Regions from separate parts of the Homo sapiens genome. Here regions 2, 3 and 4 are each linked to region 1. Evidence: promoter capture Hi-C in human tissues and cell types (Jung and others, 2019). All regions are on one chromosome and are shown on one strand. Each heading gives the region's core, a stretch centred on a gene start or on the middle of the fragment in contact. The rest is flanking DNA. Distances are from core to core; before and after follow the strand shown. Region 1 holds the start of COX11 (cytochrome c oxidase copper chaperone COX11). Region 2 overlaps TOM1L1 (target of myb1 like 1 membrane trafficking protein). Region 3 overlaps STXBP4 (syntaxin binding protein 4). Region 4 overlaps STXBP4 (syntaxin binding protein 4).

Evidence for each region. The method cuts DNA at HindIII sites, captures the fragments that hold promoters and counts their contacts. A contact is called where the count stands out against the background at its distance.
Region 2: a fragment that was not itself captured here is called in contact with the fragment with the promoter of COX11 in region 1 in 1 of the 25 tissues and cell types used here (pancreas).
Region 3: a fragment that was not itself captured here is called in contact with the fragment with the promoter of COX11 in region 1 in 1 of the 25 tissues and cell types used here (spleen).
Region 4: a contact is called between a fragment that was not itself captured here and the fragment with the promoter of COX11 in region 1, in 1 of the 25 tissues and cell types used here (stomach).

The regions. Positions count from the first base shown.
Region 1 is chr17:54,966,364-54,970,521 of GRCh38, forward strand. It overlaps COX11 (cytochrome c oxidase copper chaperone COX11), which reads right to left and starts at 2,291. Exons shown (of 4, transcript NM_004375.5): 1 at 1,918-2,291. The coding sequence starts at 2,283. It overlaps STXBP4 (syntaxin binding protein 4), which reads left to right and starts at 2,402. Exons shown (of 18, transcript NM_178509.6): 1 at 2,402-2,452. RefSeq lists enhancers at 1,361-2,310, 2,160-2,219, 2,230-2,309, 2,311-3,259, 2,490-2,589 and 1 more. The HindIII fragment of the contact is 12,807 bases long and covers 1-4,158 here.
Region 2 is chr17:54,922,083-54,926,099 of GRCh38, forward strand. The region is part of intron 7 of TOM1L1 (target of myb1 like 1 membrane trafficking protein); the gene reads left to right. Among named protein-coding and RNA genes, the nearest start is that of TOM1L1, 23 kb to the left of the region's middle. The HindIII fragment of the contact is 5,476 bases long and covers 1-4,017 here.
Region 3 is chr17:55,000,245-55,004,158 of GRCh38, forward strand. It overlaps STXBP4 (syntaxin binding protein 4), which reads left to right. Exons shown (of 18, transcript NM_178509.6): 7 at 564-639. Among named protein-coding and RNA genes, the nearest start is that of STXBP4, 33 kb to the left of the region's middle. The HindIII fragment of the contact is 4,295 bases long and covers 1-3,914 here.
Region 4 is chr17:55,029,772-55,034,110 of GRCh38, forward strand. STXBP4 (syntaxin binding protein 4) reads left to right here. Exons shown (of 18, transcript NM_178509.6): 9 at 1,397-1,493. Among named protein-coding and RNA genes, the nearest start is that of STXBP4, 63 kb to the left of the region's middle. The HindIII fragment of the contact is 6,265 bases long and covers 1-4,339 here.

The sequences.
Region 1 (4,158 bases), core at 1,041-3,540:
CATTTGGCTTCCTGATCTATGATTGCATGTGGGCACATTTCACACGCAATATTATCAGTTATTTCAGTTTGGGGCAGGGTTTCTCAATCTTAGAACTATGGACATTTTGGGCTGAATAATTTTTTGTTGTTTGGGGGTGAGGCAGTGCTTTGTTGGTTATTTAGTAGCATTCCTAGCCTCTACCTATTAGATGCCAGTAGCACCCTATACCCCCACCTCCATGTTGTGACAACCAAAAATGTCTTCACACATCGCTAAATGTTCCCTGAGGGGCAAAAATCTCCTGGCGGTCTGAGAAGGATCTAGATTTGCTGATTTGGATTCAGTTCTGCTTATGATTTAACCAACTGGTAGTTTTAGAATTCATGCTTGGGCTTGGTCTCTGATGAAAAGTAATTCACATTCTATACTCATCCTCAAAATCAACTATTGCACATTCCCACATAAATGCTGGCATTAGGAGACTATGCCAGAAAAGAAAAGTCCTTTTGTCTTCTGCTTCATCATCTAAAAGAAAGGTAAATTGATTTCCACGGGCATGGTGGCTCACGCCTGTAATCCCAGCACTTTGGGAGGCCAAGGCAGGAGGGTCACTTGAGCCCAGGAGTTGAGACCAGCCTGAGCAACATAGGGAGACCTCGTCTCTACAAATTTAAATAAATAAACGTGCGCGCGCGCGCACACACACACACACACACACACACACACACGGAAAGAGTGAACTCCAGCTAAGAATACCAGTCATGGTGTTAAAAAAACAATTCCCAAACTTTCCTGCACGCTGGAATCACCTAAAACATACTTGACAATTACTGATGCCTGGTTCCCACTGTGGCCTTGTGATAAAATGGGTAATGTGTGTGGATTTTTAGAAGCTGTCCAGGTGATTCCCAATGTTGCTGTACAATGAATTTTGGGAGCCACTATCTTAAACACTTACTGAATCACTTGTGGCATGATTTTTAAACCGAAATTCCTGTCCCTACCCTAGACTTCCTAACCAGAATCTCTGGGGTAGGGGATCCCTGGAACGTGTATTTAACGTTAAGCTCCATAGGTGATCCTAATGGCCAGCCAAAGCTGCAAATTATTAGCTAAGAACAAAGGAGAAATCTCTAAAATACGTGAAACTTGTCTTTGCCTGTGGTTCTCAAAACTTGCCCTCAAAATCAACTACAGGACTTAACTAAAATATAGAGTGCTGGTCCCACTCCCCTTCTTCTCCCCGCCCCACCCCCCCACCCCGTGTTTCTGACTCAGTCCTGGAGTCGGGCCCTAGAATTTGCACTTTTAACAGGTTCCCGGGTGATGCTGATGCTGCCGGTCCTGGGCGCCACACTCCCAGAACCGTTGCAATGTACTTAACAGTTTCCAGGTTAAGTACATTACAGTTATATATTAACAGGGGTGGGGCGAGAGAGCCTCAAAGGCCTAATTCATGCCTCTTTGTACGGAGGAACTGCTAATCCCAGTTTAAGCCCAAGAAACACGAGTAGTCCAATTTCCAGAGTTACCCTTGGCACATAAACCACATGTGGTTTGCAGAGTGAATGTATGAATAATACATTTTAAAAGCGTGTGTGCGCAGGAGGGTAAGGCAGACTGCTAGATACCCGGTTAGAGGCTGCGGACCTTTTTTTTTTTTTTTGGCGAGGTGCAGTTCATAGATCAGGGGTTTCACTCTGCAGCATGGTATAAGCACAATCACTAAGAACTGGATGCTACTTGCAGTTTTGTCACCAATTTCTTTGGTGACTTTGGGTGTTAAGTGACTGTTTTGAACCTCTCTCCTCTTAGGTAGATAATATCGGAAACCTCTTCCACCTACGACCCGCAGAGCGAGGGCTTGTCCCGGGATTTGTCTTGCACCCCCACCTCTCGCGTCTGCGCCACCCTGCGGGCGGCGCCGGCCCCTACCTGGCAATAGAGCCGATAAAGGGGTACGGCAGCGTAGGACGCCCCCAGCATGCCCACGGCGACAGCGGCCACGTAAGTGAGGGTCGTCTTGTTCTGCCGCCGCCGCTCCTCCTCCTGCGCGCGTGTGAAAGGGTTCGAGCTCTTAGGCCGCCGCGGCGGCTGCAATGCTGGATGCCGGGCTCGAAGGCTGCAGCGCTTCCATGTCCCAAGCCACCTCAGTCCTCTCTCGGCACCTCCTGTCCCACTCCACTCTGGCCTAAGAAACGGCTCTACCCTCTCTGCAGCCCTGGTTGGAGACCCAGGGTGGATCCAGCGCCAGCCACAGAAAGGAACGCACCTCCATCCAGGACGCCAGAGCCCTCCCATAACCCTCTGAACTAACACCCACCCGCCTCTCAGGGACGAGAGGTCAAATCTCGCGAGGCGTGCTCCGTCTCGCGAGATCTGGGTTGAGCCTGCCGCTGCCTTGGCTACCAGGCTCCTCAGGTGGCAGCGCTTGCAGTCGGGCTACGGAGGCCGGGTTGCCAGATTACGGGTAAGTTTGCGTTTTGCTTTGTGACTGTTACTCCCACTTCGCTTCTCGCCAGAACGTCTCTTAACATTTAGGAAAATGCGTTTCGCCCGTCCGCGTGCAAGCTTGCCATCACTTGGGGTTGCGCCTGTGATCTTTATTTAAACTCCACCAGCCTTTGTCTCGACCCGGCAGCCCCGGCGACGCTCTCCCGCGGTCTTTTCTCCTGGGGTCCCTTGGCCGCTGGCTCCTGTGCTCACTGCCCTGGACTTAGTTCAAGTATCACCTCTCTCAGGAAGCCTTGCTGTGTTAACCGCAGCCCTCATGGGCACCCACGACACCTGCATTTTCTCAGCCCGTGGGCAGTCGGCTTCCCCTGCTCTGATGCCCCTTACAACTTGCCCAGTGGAAAGCACCACAGCTGGAGCAGGAGGGAGGCTGTCACGCTGAAGTTTGTTCTGGAGAGAGTGACCAGGATAGGAGGGCCATTTAAGGAGAGACTGAAAGAAACGAACCCCGTGGGAGGATGTAATAGCTTTCTTCAGTTGTCCCACAGGACGAACTCGAGGGGGGCAGACAGCATAGCGGATTTTACTGTGTTAGAAGGAAGCATCTTTCTAGAAACTATAAAATAGCAGTTAAGAGCTCAGGTTCTGAGGTTAGGGGGTTCTGGATTTTTACCCGGGTCCTCACCATGGCCCTGTGCCCTTAGGTCAGTTACTTGTCCTCTAAGACCTGGTGTCCTTACTTGTAAAATGGAAATCAGAACAGTAAATGAATAATATTCATATAACGTCTTTCATGATGACTGAGGCATAGTAAGAATGTAGTTAAAAGTTAGGCTGTATTTCTACTTGCTACGTGGCCATTTCTAATGGCCAGAGCAGGTATAATTATCCCCACTATGTGGATGAGGAACTTGGAGGCCTGAGAAATTTTAACTAGTCATTCGACATTTTATTTATTTATTGCCCTCTCAACTGTGGGCCTGACACCAATCGACCTGCTGGCACTATAGCACAGAACAAGTCGGGAGATCACTTCAGTGATGGAGTGTCCTTTCTGCTGAGGGACTCAGAAAATAATCAAGTAACAGTTACCGAAATAAGGGAATTTCAGATAACAATCAGTGCAGTGAAGACAATGTAATAACATAGTATGATTGACAGTCATGAGAAGCGGTAGTAAAGTAAGGACGTTTTGAAGAGGTGACATTTGAGTTTAGATCTGAACGATGATAAGGAGCTACCTACTCAATAACAATTCCAGGCCAAGCAAAGGCCCAGGGGAAGGAAAGAGATAGAATGATTGAAGAACAGAAAGAAGGCCACTGTGTTCCCAACATAGCAGAGTGGAAAGTGGTAGGAAATGGGGTCAGAACAGGTAACAAAGGCCTGGTAATACCAGCCTTTTAAGCCATGTCCAAGGGTTTGGATTTTATTCTAAAAGTAATAGGAAGCTATTGGAATGTTTGACACATACAAGTGATGTGATCTGACTCACATTTTTGAAAAGATATTGATTACTTTGTGGAGAATGGATTAAAGGTAGGGGGAGGAATGGAAGTAGAACAATTAGGAAGCAATTGCAGTAGTCCACATGAGTGATGATGGTCACCTTGAGTGAGTAATTGATTAACTTGTGGTCACAGGGCCAGAAAATTGCAGAACCAATAAAATATAAATACCTTCTGACTTCTTTCTATACTCTGGCATACTGTCTCAAAAATT
Region 2 (4,017 bases), core at 276-2,775, 45 kb before region 1:
GAGGTGGAGACCATCCTGGCTAATACAGTGAAACCCCATCTCTACTAAAAAATACAAAAAATTAGCCAGGTATGGTGGTGGGCGCCTGTAGTCCCAACTACTTGGGAGGCTGAGGCAGTAGAATGGTGTGAACCCAGGAGGCGGAGCTTGCAGTGAGCCGAGATCAAGCCACTGCACTCCAGCCTGGGCAACAGAGCGAGGCTGTCTCAAAAAAATAAACAAAAAAAGAAAATTGTAAGGAAGGCTAGGCACAGTGGCTTACACCTGTAATCCTAGCACTCTGGGAAGCTGAGGCAGGAGGATTGCTTGCATCCAGAAGTTTGAGACCAGCCTGGGCAACATAGTGAGACTCTGTTGCTACAAAAAATAAATTAGCCAGGCATGGTGGTACATGCCTGTGGTCCCAGCTACTGGGGAGGCTGAGGTGGGAGGATCGCTTGAACCTGGGAGGTCGAGGCTGCAGTAAACCGTGATTGCACCATTGTTGGGCAACAGAGTGAGACCCTGTCTCAGTTTAAAAATTAAAAAAGAAAAATTTCTTTAAGAAAATTATAAGGAAGAGAACATATATTTACTATTCATTAAGTGGACGTGGGTCATAAAGGTCTTGATCTTTATCTTTTTGCTGAATGGGCTGAGAAGGAAGAAGAAGAGAAATTGATCTTTCTGTCTTGGGTGGCAGAGTCAGAAAACAATCCACCTCTCAGTGGAGCCATGCAGTTCAAACCCATGTTGTTCAAGGTTCAACAGTATTTCCTCTATTTAATTCCAATACATTTTCATTACCCCAAAAGGAAACCCCATGCTCATTAAGCAGCCTCTCCTTTCTGCCTTTCATCAGTTCCAGATAACCACCAATCTGGTTCTGTGTCTGTGGATTTACCTGTTCTGGACATTTCATATAGGTGGAATCACATAATATATGACTTTTTGTGTTTAGCATCTTTCACTTAGTGTTTTTGAGGTTCATCCATGTTGTAGCATGTATCAGAATTTTATTACTTTAATGGCCTAATATTTCATTGTATATCCCACGTTTTATATATCAGTTCATTAATAGACATTTAGGTTGTTTCCACCTTTGGCTATTGTGACTAATGCTGCTATGAACATTCACATACAGGTTTTTCTTTGAATACCTGTGTTCACTTCTTTTGAGTATCAACCTAAGAGTAGAATTGCTGGGTCGTATAGTAACTTTAACTTTTTGAGGAATTGTCAAAATGTTTTGCACAATGGCTGCACCATTGTATATTCTGTTAGCGGTATGCAGTACTACTAGGATTCCAGATTCTCCACAATGAATACTTGTTATTTTCCATTGTGTTTTTTTTAATGGCCCGCTGGTAGGTGTGAAGTGGTATCTCATTATGGTTTTGATTTTGATTTGTATTTGCATTTTCCTAATGACTAATGAATTTGAGTGTCTGTATTATAGTTTTTTATTTTTTAAATTAATTATTTTATTTATTTATTTTTTTGAGATGGAGTCTTGCTCTGTCACCCAGGCTGGAGTGCAGTGGCGCGATCTCGGCTCACTGCAACCTCTGCCTCCTGGATTTGAGCAATTCTCCTGTCTCAGCCTCCGGAGTAGCTGAGACTATAGGTGCCTGCCACCATGCCTGGCTAATTTTTGTATTTTTAGTAGATACAGGGTTTCACCATGTTGGCCAGGCTGGTCTCAAACTTCTGACCTCAGGTGATCTACCTGCCTTGGCCTCCCAAAGTTGTATTATAGCTTTTTAAAAGGTAATTAGCCAGGCATGGTGGCAGGTGCCTGTAATCCCAGCTACTCAGGAGGTTGAGGCAGTGAGCTGCCTGGGAGCTTGAACCTGGGAGGTGGAGGTTGCAGTGAGCTAAGATTGCACCACCGTACTCCAGCCTGGCGATACTACTTGTCAAAAAATAAAATAAAATAAATAAAATAAAATGTAAACCAGATCGTGTTGTTCCTTGCTGGAAACCCTCCATTGGCTTCCCATTATAGTTGGAGTAAAACTAGACCTCTCTAGTCTGGCCACAGAGCCCTTCTCGGTCGTCTTTAGCCTACTTCTGTTTCCGTGGCACGTGCTTGCTAACCTCCTTCCTATTCCTTGAGTGCACTGAGTTCATTCTTGCTGGGGAGTTGTTTCATCCCTGACTCTTATGCTTCCCTGTCTTCAAATGGCCAGCTTTTTCTTTTTCTTTTCTTTTCTTTTTTCTTTTTTTTTTTTTTGAGATAGAGTCTGACTCTGTCACTCAGGCTGGAGTGCAGTGGCACGATCTCTGCTCACTGCAACCTCCGCCTCCCATGTTCAAGTGATTCTCCTGCCTCAGCCTCCCGAGTAGCTGGGACTACAGGTGCCCGCCACCATGCCCAGCTATTTTTTGTATTTTTGGTAGAGATGGGGTTTCACTATGTTGTCCAGGCTGATCTCGAACTCTTTCTTATCATTCTGATCTTAGCATGTTACTCTCCTGAGAAGTCTTCTGTGACTCCCCAGTCTAAAATTAGCCACCGTCCTATCACATCACCATTTATTCACCTGGCACTCACAGTGTCTGACGCTTTTCTTGCATGGTCGTCAGCTGTCTTTGCCTACTAGAATGGAAATGCCAAAAGGCTTGTCTTGTTCATTACCAGGTTCTGGCTCCCAGATTAGTGCCTAACATGATGTAATCATTCAGTAAACAGGCTTAATGAATCAATAGCTTTCTTCCCCTGGATTTTATGTGACTTAAAATTCAAATCTGTATTCTTGGTATGAGATGGGGACTTTACCTTCATTTATTTTTTCAATTTGATGGCTGGTTGTCCAAATAACATCCATTAACAATTCACGCCTTCTCCAATGGTTTTAAATGCCCCTTTATCACATACGGTATATTCTAATTCAGGGTTGTCTTCTAGAGGCTATTCTCGAGGCTATTCTCGTCCCTTGACCTATTTGTGCCTAACTTGGCATCATACTATTTTCATTACTCTAAAGATGTGTTTTTATGCTTTCTAGGGTATATTAGCAAAGAGATGACATACTTCATTTGGGTAATTTGAAGAAAGCTTAATCAAAATACTGTTTATTTAGTAAGATGTTATAAAGTTCAGGGAAACTACAAGGGCTTGATCGCTACCCTGGATTATTAACTAATATCCCTAGAATTACATAGACAAGAAGAGGGCACTTTTGCCAGAACCTAGAGGAAAGAATAATGTGGGGGAGGGCAGACTTGAAAGCAGGGGTGCCTTTGGTGGAAGGAGTGGAAAGAATAAATATCCAGACCTCATTCTCCTTCCTTCCTCCTGTTTCCTGCCAGCCAGCATGCCTGTTGGCTGAACACAGAAGCAAGAAGACAGGGGATCTGGCGATGTGATCCCTACAAGCCAGGCCCCAGGGCACAGAGTTAAGGCAGAAAGTATGGACAGTGGATCTGGAGGGCCAAGGAAAGTTCTCCAGCAGAAAGGAAGAGCCTCCACTCAAAAATTTCTTGGCTGCTCTTGCACATATACTTCACCAGTGACCACAGTCTTATAGTATCAGTTTATTATAAAACCATCCTGAGGCCAGATGCGATGGAGCACGCCTGTAATCTCAGCACTTTGGGAGGCCAAGGTGGGCAGATCACCTGAGGTCAGGAGTTCGAGACCAGCCTGGCCAACATGGTGAAACCCCGTCTCTACTAAAAATACAAATATCAGCTGGGCGTGGTGGCACGCTCCTATAGTCGCAGTCACTCAGGAGGTTGAGGCATGAGAATCGCTTGAACCCGGGAGGCAAAGTTGCAGTGAGCTGAGATGGCACCACTGCACTCCAGCCTGGGTGACAGATCGAGACTCCCTCTCAAACAAAAAACAACAACAAAAAAAAAAGCAGCCTGTATACTTGGAAGTTCTTCCTGTTTTGGCTGTTTATACTTACCTTCTAGTAACTGTTCTGTTTCTTTGGAACCTATTCCTTGTCTGTTTTCTTTCATTTGAAATCCAGTATATTTACTTGGAATCCCCTTTCTGTTCCACCAACCCACACTGAACAATTAGAT
Region 3 (3,914 bases), core at 736-3,235, 34 kb after region 1:
AGGCATCCAATCTAAGAAGGTATTGCTCCTTCATGTGTGCATGCTATAGTTCACCCAAGTAGAATCACACAAAATGGGGAATTTCTATATCAGAATTAACATACTCAATTACTAACTGCTATATTATCTGAACAAATTACAGTTACAGAATAAAGTGTGTATTATTTATATCTGTGTTAGCTGTAAAATAGGAAACTTAAGCTTTTAGTCAGTAGAATAAAATTCATCAAAGGTAACTTCAGTCTCTGGTACATGCTGAACAGAGACAGAGTATAAGATTTTCTGTCAGCCCCTTATACTTTGTCACTTGGAGCTATAATACTTTTAAAAGACAAGATGAGTGGCCTTATATTTTGTTATCCTTGGATGTGGTAGAGCTGAAAGCAATTGTTACCTTTAATTCTGAATTGCTTTGTTTGAAGATGCATATACCAAAATTTTAGAGGTTTCATATTTGAGGGATAATTACTTTAATCTCTTTAACCATTCTTTTTATGTTAACATGGGCTTCAAGTGACCTACTTTAGTAAATGACATTGCATGTTCCTCATTTTCTTTCACAGATAAAAACTGGATACAACAAAACAGTACAGATTCCAATTACTTCAGAAAACAGTACTGTGGGTTTGTCTAATACAGGTAAATACACATTTAATTTCTATTTCCTGTTTTTTATTTCAATTCTCTCTCAATGAGGAGTGTGTAATGTGACTTAAGACTTTGAAGAAGGGTGAATTATGTCTTTGTTCCTTCAGTGAACGAAAAAGTAAAAATAATGTCTTTCCGTTGGGCCCTGTTAAAGTATGACTTTTATTAGATATTTCCCTGAACAAAGAGTTGAAGTTTCAAAAGATGCATTGTCATAACAGTGTTTATGAAGCTGTAATAATTAATGAATTGTTTAAATCAAATAATGGAAAGTCTTCTATAAAGATCAAGATTAGGTTGCCATGTCCTTTTAGTGCAATACTGATGAGGCATATTAAATACACCTTTCGGAAAACACATTATAGAAGGGAGCATACCTTAAGAAAAGAAATGTATCTTGTTTTTTTGGAAGAAATCATATGGATATCAATTATAAAGGGTGTCAGTATTGTTAATTCATTATTATTGATTCTTAATTACCATAAAATGATTTACTGACTTTTTAAAACAATAAAGCGTTAATTATCTAAGCCAAATGTAAAATAAAGATTTTTATGTGGCTATAAGGTGCTTACAGGATCAATACGAAGAAAAAAAGCCCCCTGAAATTATCTCCAAAAGTTAAACACAACAATGATAAAAAGACTAAACATAACTGAAAAACTAATTATATATGCCTAATTATAAGGTAAATTTTTACCTGTATATTTTAATTTTGTTTTAATAGCATTATTTATATAAGAACTGAAAAATAAGGAAGCATTAATTTAAATTAAATAGCTACCAATCTTTTTTTTGAGATGGATTCTTGCTCTGTCGAAGTTCCGCCTCCTGGGTTCACGCCATTCTCCTGCCTCAGCCTCCCAAGTAGCTGGGATTACAGGCGCCTGCCACCATGCCCGGCTAATTTTTTGTACTTTTAGTAGAGATGGCGTTTCACCATGTTAGCCAGGATGGTCTCGATCTCCTGACCTCGTGATCTGCCTGCCTTGGCCTCCCAAAGTGCTGGGATGACAGGCGTGAGCCACCGCTCGTGCCTGGCTCAATAGCTACCAATCTTTACAGGAGTTTATACTATATTCCACAGTAGTTTCCTCCGATTTGGGGTGGTATTTACCAGTGGGTTAATAGCAATCTTAAGCCATGAGTTATATTACCTTTTACTTAGATTTATTGACCAACTTTATAGCATTATTCCTCTTACATAATTAATTTCCAGTCTCTGCATGTACTGTATTTATTTTAAACTGGGAACCCTTATGAGAAGAAAAAGACAAATGAAACAGTCATGAGATGAGCATCAAAATTGCTAGATGATGGAAGTCAGAACCCTTTATTCCTTGATATTATAAAATATTAATAATTATATAACATGTTTTTAACTTTTAAAGTAATTGAACTATTCAATGCCTATTTTAACCTTTTATTCAGTAAGGTTTTACTATGTTATATGTGTAGAATACAGTACAACGGGAATTATGAAGAAATTAGGATATTTTCTGTGAGATACTTAATAGTATATTGTGAAATAAAACATGGGGCTAAAAATTATAATTATTGAAATTAGGAAACATTCTAATTTATATGCATGTATTTGTTTATAGATGTGTGTGTATGTTTATTTTATCAAGCAGCTACTATTTGCAGTTTTTTGTGTTAATCAGAGCAGGATATGGGTGGTTTTGTTACTCTAAAAAGCATTCTGTCTTGTGGATGAATAACACATTTACACAAATTATGTAAAGACATGAACAAAGAGGCCTAAGGAAGGAAGTAGTGAGTGCTATGAGTATGGTATAAGGAAGGCACAGTGGTTACCACCAGGCTCTGAATACAGACTCAGTGTTCAGGTTCTTGCTTTCATCTTATTAGCTCTGTAACCTTGAAATAGTTACAAGTTACAAGGAGTTGTTATGAGGATTAAACAAGATCTTGCATGTCAAGCACTTATATTGTAATTAGTGCATAGTATATGCTTACTAAATTTTCCTGTTACTAATAATATGGAACCTATAGCTTAGAGTGTAGCTCAGATAATATTCTAGGTCATGTTTATAGAGCAGAAGGAAAGCTTCCAATTCTTGATTCAATTTTATGTCCTCCCCTTGACCCCAAAAACTAGTATATAATAAGGAATCTGTCACAATATGCAGAAATTAAGAAAAATTTCTTGGCAAAAGTCAGACATTATCCAAATCTTGAAAAAAGTGGTAAACATCAATTGATAACTGAACACAGGAGATCGTTTCAAGTTAAGGAAGCACCACAAATAAAAGCATAGAACTAAGGATGAGCTAGATGTCAGATGATTCTAAGAGTCAGGTGTGATTAGAGCAGAGATCTTGTTAACAATGAATAAACTCAGGTAAATTTATACCAGTCGCTATAAGAATAGTGGTAGATTTTGTAATAGAAAAATAGGTTAGTGAAAAATATATTTAAGTAAGTTATAGGTAAATATTAAAATACAATTAAGACGGAACATTTTTCTAGAGTAGAAAGTGCATCAACTCAGTCTCATTTTCTTCTACATAAATGTAGTAGGCAAGATATTTCTGGGGAGTGGAAAAAAGGCAAAATCACCTCTAAATTATCTCTAGATAACTTATATACATTGTGATTTGCATATTATAAGTACCTAATTATAGATTGTTACAAATCAGAAATTAACCATCACTTCTAGATTTCTTCAGTTACCTGATGCTAATACAAAAAATATAAACAAATTTTAATGTTAACCTCAACAAAAGTAAATGTAATTAGATAGTTCTATTTCTGTTCTTATCTAAAAATCATCCCAAAGTGTAAAATAGGTTAGAATTTTTAAAATCCACATAATATTTAAATGTTTTAAAAATGATGCTATTATACAGAAATTTATTTCAAAATCCAGAGTTGTTTACTAGTGCTATATATAAGTTGAATAACACATGAGTTTGTAAGTGAGCTAACAATATACTAAAGACATTTCTAAGGATAGCAATAAACAATTGTTGCAGCCAGGTGCGGTGGCTCACATCTGTAATCCCAGAACTTTGGGAGGCTGAGACGGGCAGATCACTTGAGGTCAGGAGTTCGAGACCAGCCTGGCCAACATAGTGAAACCCTGTCTCTACTAAAAATAGAAAAAAAAAAAATTAGCCAGGCACAGTGGTGCACGCCTGAAGTCCCAGCTACTCGGGAGGCTAAGGCAGGAGAATTGCTTCCTTGAACCCAGGAGGCAGAGGTTGCAGTGAGCTGAGATTATGCCACTGCACTCCAGCCTG
Region 4 (4,339 bases), core at 787-3,286, 63 kb after region 1:
TGTTTTACTTATTTCTTTACAGTTGTTCTCACCCTTGAGACCGTAAACTCTTTGGGGTGAGAGACTATATTTCATTTATCTATCACCTATGCATAGTTTAGTGGCTGACAAATAGTAGGCACCAAATAAATTATTTGATGAATGAATTACTAAATGATTGAACGAGATTCTAAAGGAGGAAGAAATATGTAAGAGATAATTACCAATACTAAACTTTGCCTACATTTTAGTTTTGATGTGATCGACACTATATATGCTCTTGCCATATCCAATAATAGGACATCCAATTAGTCCCTTTGTGTTAGTTAAGATTAGATTTTGCTATATATAACTGGCGAACTCAAAATAACAGTAGTTTCCTTTAGAAATTTCTTTCACACCAAAAAGAAGCCTGAAAGAAGGTAATCCAGGGCTGCCGTGGAGGTTTCAGAGTATCAGGGACCATGTTCCAATTATCTTTCTGTTCCACCATCTTTACTGCGGTACCACATGAACCAAAAGAACTGCTCAAATTCCATCAGTTCCTCTTTCTTTCCTTCCTTCCTTTCATCTTTTTTCTTCCTCTTTCTTTCCCCTTACTAATCCGCATGGACAAGAAGTGCTTACCCCGACTTTTGAAAGGAGACTTCCTAATAGTACTCTATGGCACTTCCCCTTGTATCTCATTGGCTAGTACCTAGTTAGTTACATGGCCGCATGGAGATGTACAAGGGGCTGGGAAATGTCTTTTAGCTGCATGGCAGTGTTTTCAGCCGAAAATTGTGGTTGGTTCGGTTACTAAGGAGCAAGGAGAGAATGGACATTGGAATACAATTAACAGTCTCTGAATTTTTAATCACTAATGGATACCAAAACGAGAAAGAACTTTTCCCTTAAGGGGAAGAGCCTGATGAAAGAGAGAAGTAAGTGGCAGAGAAAGCTTTTTAGTTTACTATTTGTGTAAGCCTGCCCCTAACAAGCCAAAAATTAGAAGATTTTATGTTGAACCTAATTCCTATCAACTTCAGTTCTGCTCTCAAAGGCAAGATGTTAACCAAATATAATTCATGTTTTAGAGTGTCACTTGTAAATCTGATGTAGTAGGATTCTTTTGCCATTTTACATGTGCCAAATCATATAAACTAAGAAATAGTTTGATTTTTGGTTCTAGGACAATGTCATAAATTTGGTATTAGCTAAAGTGCTAGTCTTGGGGAAAAAATGAGGTAGTAGTAAAATCAGGAAGCTAATCTTCAATAGGCACTTAATCCATAAAGAGCTGACTTCCCTTGGGTGTTTAATCCTGGTCGACTGTTTCTGGTATTGATTATTTTCCCTGGGTTGTAAAGTTTGTAATGAAAAGTTTTATTCTTTGGAGATTTGAAAAATTGCTTTTCATGAGTCCTTTATCTTCCAGGCTCTAAATTATCTTGGTATTCAGCCCACAAAGGAACAACACCAAGCCCTGAGACAGCAAGTACAAGCAGACTCAAAAGGGACAGTGTCTTTTGGAGGTAATATTAGGTTTATTGTGTTGTATTATCACTGAATCATCATTCAAGAGTTATGGTGACACATTTTCATTAAGAGTGTTTGTTCTTTAGAAGGAGAGAATGAAAAGTAAAACTACATCCATTTCAAGGTCCTTAATCAGTACCCAAAGAACTCAGCTAGAATTACTGACCTGGCAGGGTCAGCAGAAAGAAGAATTTCATTAGGACCTTTCAGCTCTAAAATATCATCATTCTGTCATATTCTTTTTATTTTTTATTTATTGCATAAACATTGCTTTAGTAATAACAAAAGAAACAGTACAAAATATGGAAGTTCTAATTTCACTACTGTGAGATTAATTCGAATCCTTTTTCAGCTAATATAATATAGTAAATATTTTTATGATGCTACCTAATTAGAGTCATCCCTTGGTATGGGAGGGGAATTGTTTCCCGGACCCCTGCATATACCCAAATCCAGCCATACTCAATCTCATAGACAGCCTTGCAGAACCCACATATAGTAAAAGTTTACCCTCCACATATGTGGCTTTTCCAACCTGCAAATACTGTATTTTTTATGCATTTGGTTGAAAAAACTTGATGTATAAGTGAACCTGTGTAGTTCAAGCCTATGTTGTTCAGGGGTCAACTCTATTCTTATTAAAGATACCATAATGTACCACTTAGTTATTGTACTATAATATTAAGCCTTTCTACTATTGTGAATTTTGATAGTTTCTCAGTAGCTGATATTACAAATCTGTATTTATCAACATTATGAATGTAGCTGTTTTTCTTTCTTAAGCCAAATCCTCACAAATGATTTGGACTTTTGATACATATTGGTAAATTGTTTTTCAGAGATATTTTGCACATATATTCGTTCCACCACCAGTAATGTTTGAATATAACACTTTTTGTCTTCTTGTCACTATTAAGTAATTTTTTTCTTGTATAATAGATGTAACATTGTATTATTTATAAAGCATCTGTATTGCTGAAAAAAAATTGACCTTTTGGTTTTTAAGTGATGAAAAAAAGATATTTTTCATCCCATCTCCACTTGAAAATCATCCCAAAATAATAATGAAAACAAGAAACAGAAAAACACATACAAGTAAAATCACAATATCTAAGGACAGAAAAATGGGTGAGGAAAGTAAATTTGTGAGCAGAGGCAGGTAAAGCCCAAGTGTGTGAAGATAGAGGAAAATCACAATGAGGAACAAGTTGATTTGACCCTAAAATGATTTAAGAATTGAAGACATCAAGTACTTCTGGAGACTGAGTTTTTAGGCAGGATATTAAAACAGGATTGTTGGAAATCTTTATAAGGAGAATTATGCATGCTCTTCTCTGCTCTTTCTCAAGTAGTCCGGCATCTCCCACCGTACACCTCCAGGAGAAAAGAAGTATATTCCTTTGAGAAATTAAACCAGAGATCGTGGACCTATAGTTGCCAGCTGCAAGGGAGTTTGTGGAGTATATAGTGAGTCATCACTCGTAATATGCACCCAGATTGCTCAGGGAACTTTGCTGCCATGTTTATTACTATAGGCAGAAGACTATGGTATTCTCTCTGAAGAAGCTGAACAGAAATGTCAGCTGGCCACCAGATTGCCCTGTAGTGAAAGCTGCCAGTTGACAAAGCAAGTTACACACACAAAATTTCCAACCAACTTTTTTAGTGCCCGATTCTTAAATATGAACTCATAGTCAAGAGTCACCAGAGATTTGGAGAAATCCTCCAACATAAAATATAGAACCCAAAACTATCAGACAAACAGAAAAAAGGAACTCAGAAAAAAAGAAATAAAGAAGCACAGAAGAGAATTTCAGGTAGGAGGTCAGGTGCAGTGACTCACACCTGTAATCCCAGCACTTTAGGAGGCCAAGGTGGGTGCGTCACCTGAGGTGAGGAGTTCAAGACCAGCCTGGCCAATATGGTGAAACCCCGTCTCTATTAAAAATACAAAAATCAGCTGGGCATGGTGGTGCACGCCTGTAATCCCAGCTACTCAGGAGGCTGAGGCAAGAGAATCGCTTGAACCTGGGCAGTGGAGGTTGCAGTGAGCCAAGATCGTGCCACTGCACTCCAGCCTGGGTGACAGAGTGAGACTCCATCTCAAAAAATAAATAAATAAATAAAATAAAATAAATAAATAAATTCAGGTAAACTCTCATAACATCTTTAAAGAGAAAAGTGAAGGTAATGCAACCATGAAATAAAGTAGGATATTGTAAAACAGGAACAATCAGAGAATATTTAAAAGAATCCTTGGAAATTAAAAATACAGTAGCCAAAGTGGAAAATATTTGAGGATACATAGATGAGTAAGTTACTCTCCTTGTCAGAAGAAGCCTATGAACTGTTCTTTTTCCTCTTTGCCACGTGGCCTTGGACAGTTGAAGGCATTTAACCTGTCTCAGCCTCAATTTTTTTCATCTGTAAAATGGACAGGATAAGAGGACCTACCTCAGAAGACTGTTGGGAGGATGAAATTGCTAAGCACTGTGCCTGCCATACAGCAGCGGTTACATAAACATTATCTGCTGCTATTAATAATTGCTATCAAACCTCAGGTTCTTCCAGCTAGAAAAGCCATAAATCATAATATTGTCAAATGTTTCAGAAAAAGTTCTACTCATAATACAAGGGTTGAAAAACTATAGGTCCATGATATATATTTGCTTTATTATTATCTTAGCTGAATTATTAATTTTAGCAAAGTTAACTGAAGTAAGTTCAGACCAATTTGTCTCTTCTTATTTGAAATTACATTTACCTATCACTTCAGTCAATACTATTTTAAGATAATTTATGTGGGTTAAATTTGAAACCTTAGCAACTTCATATAGAATAA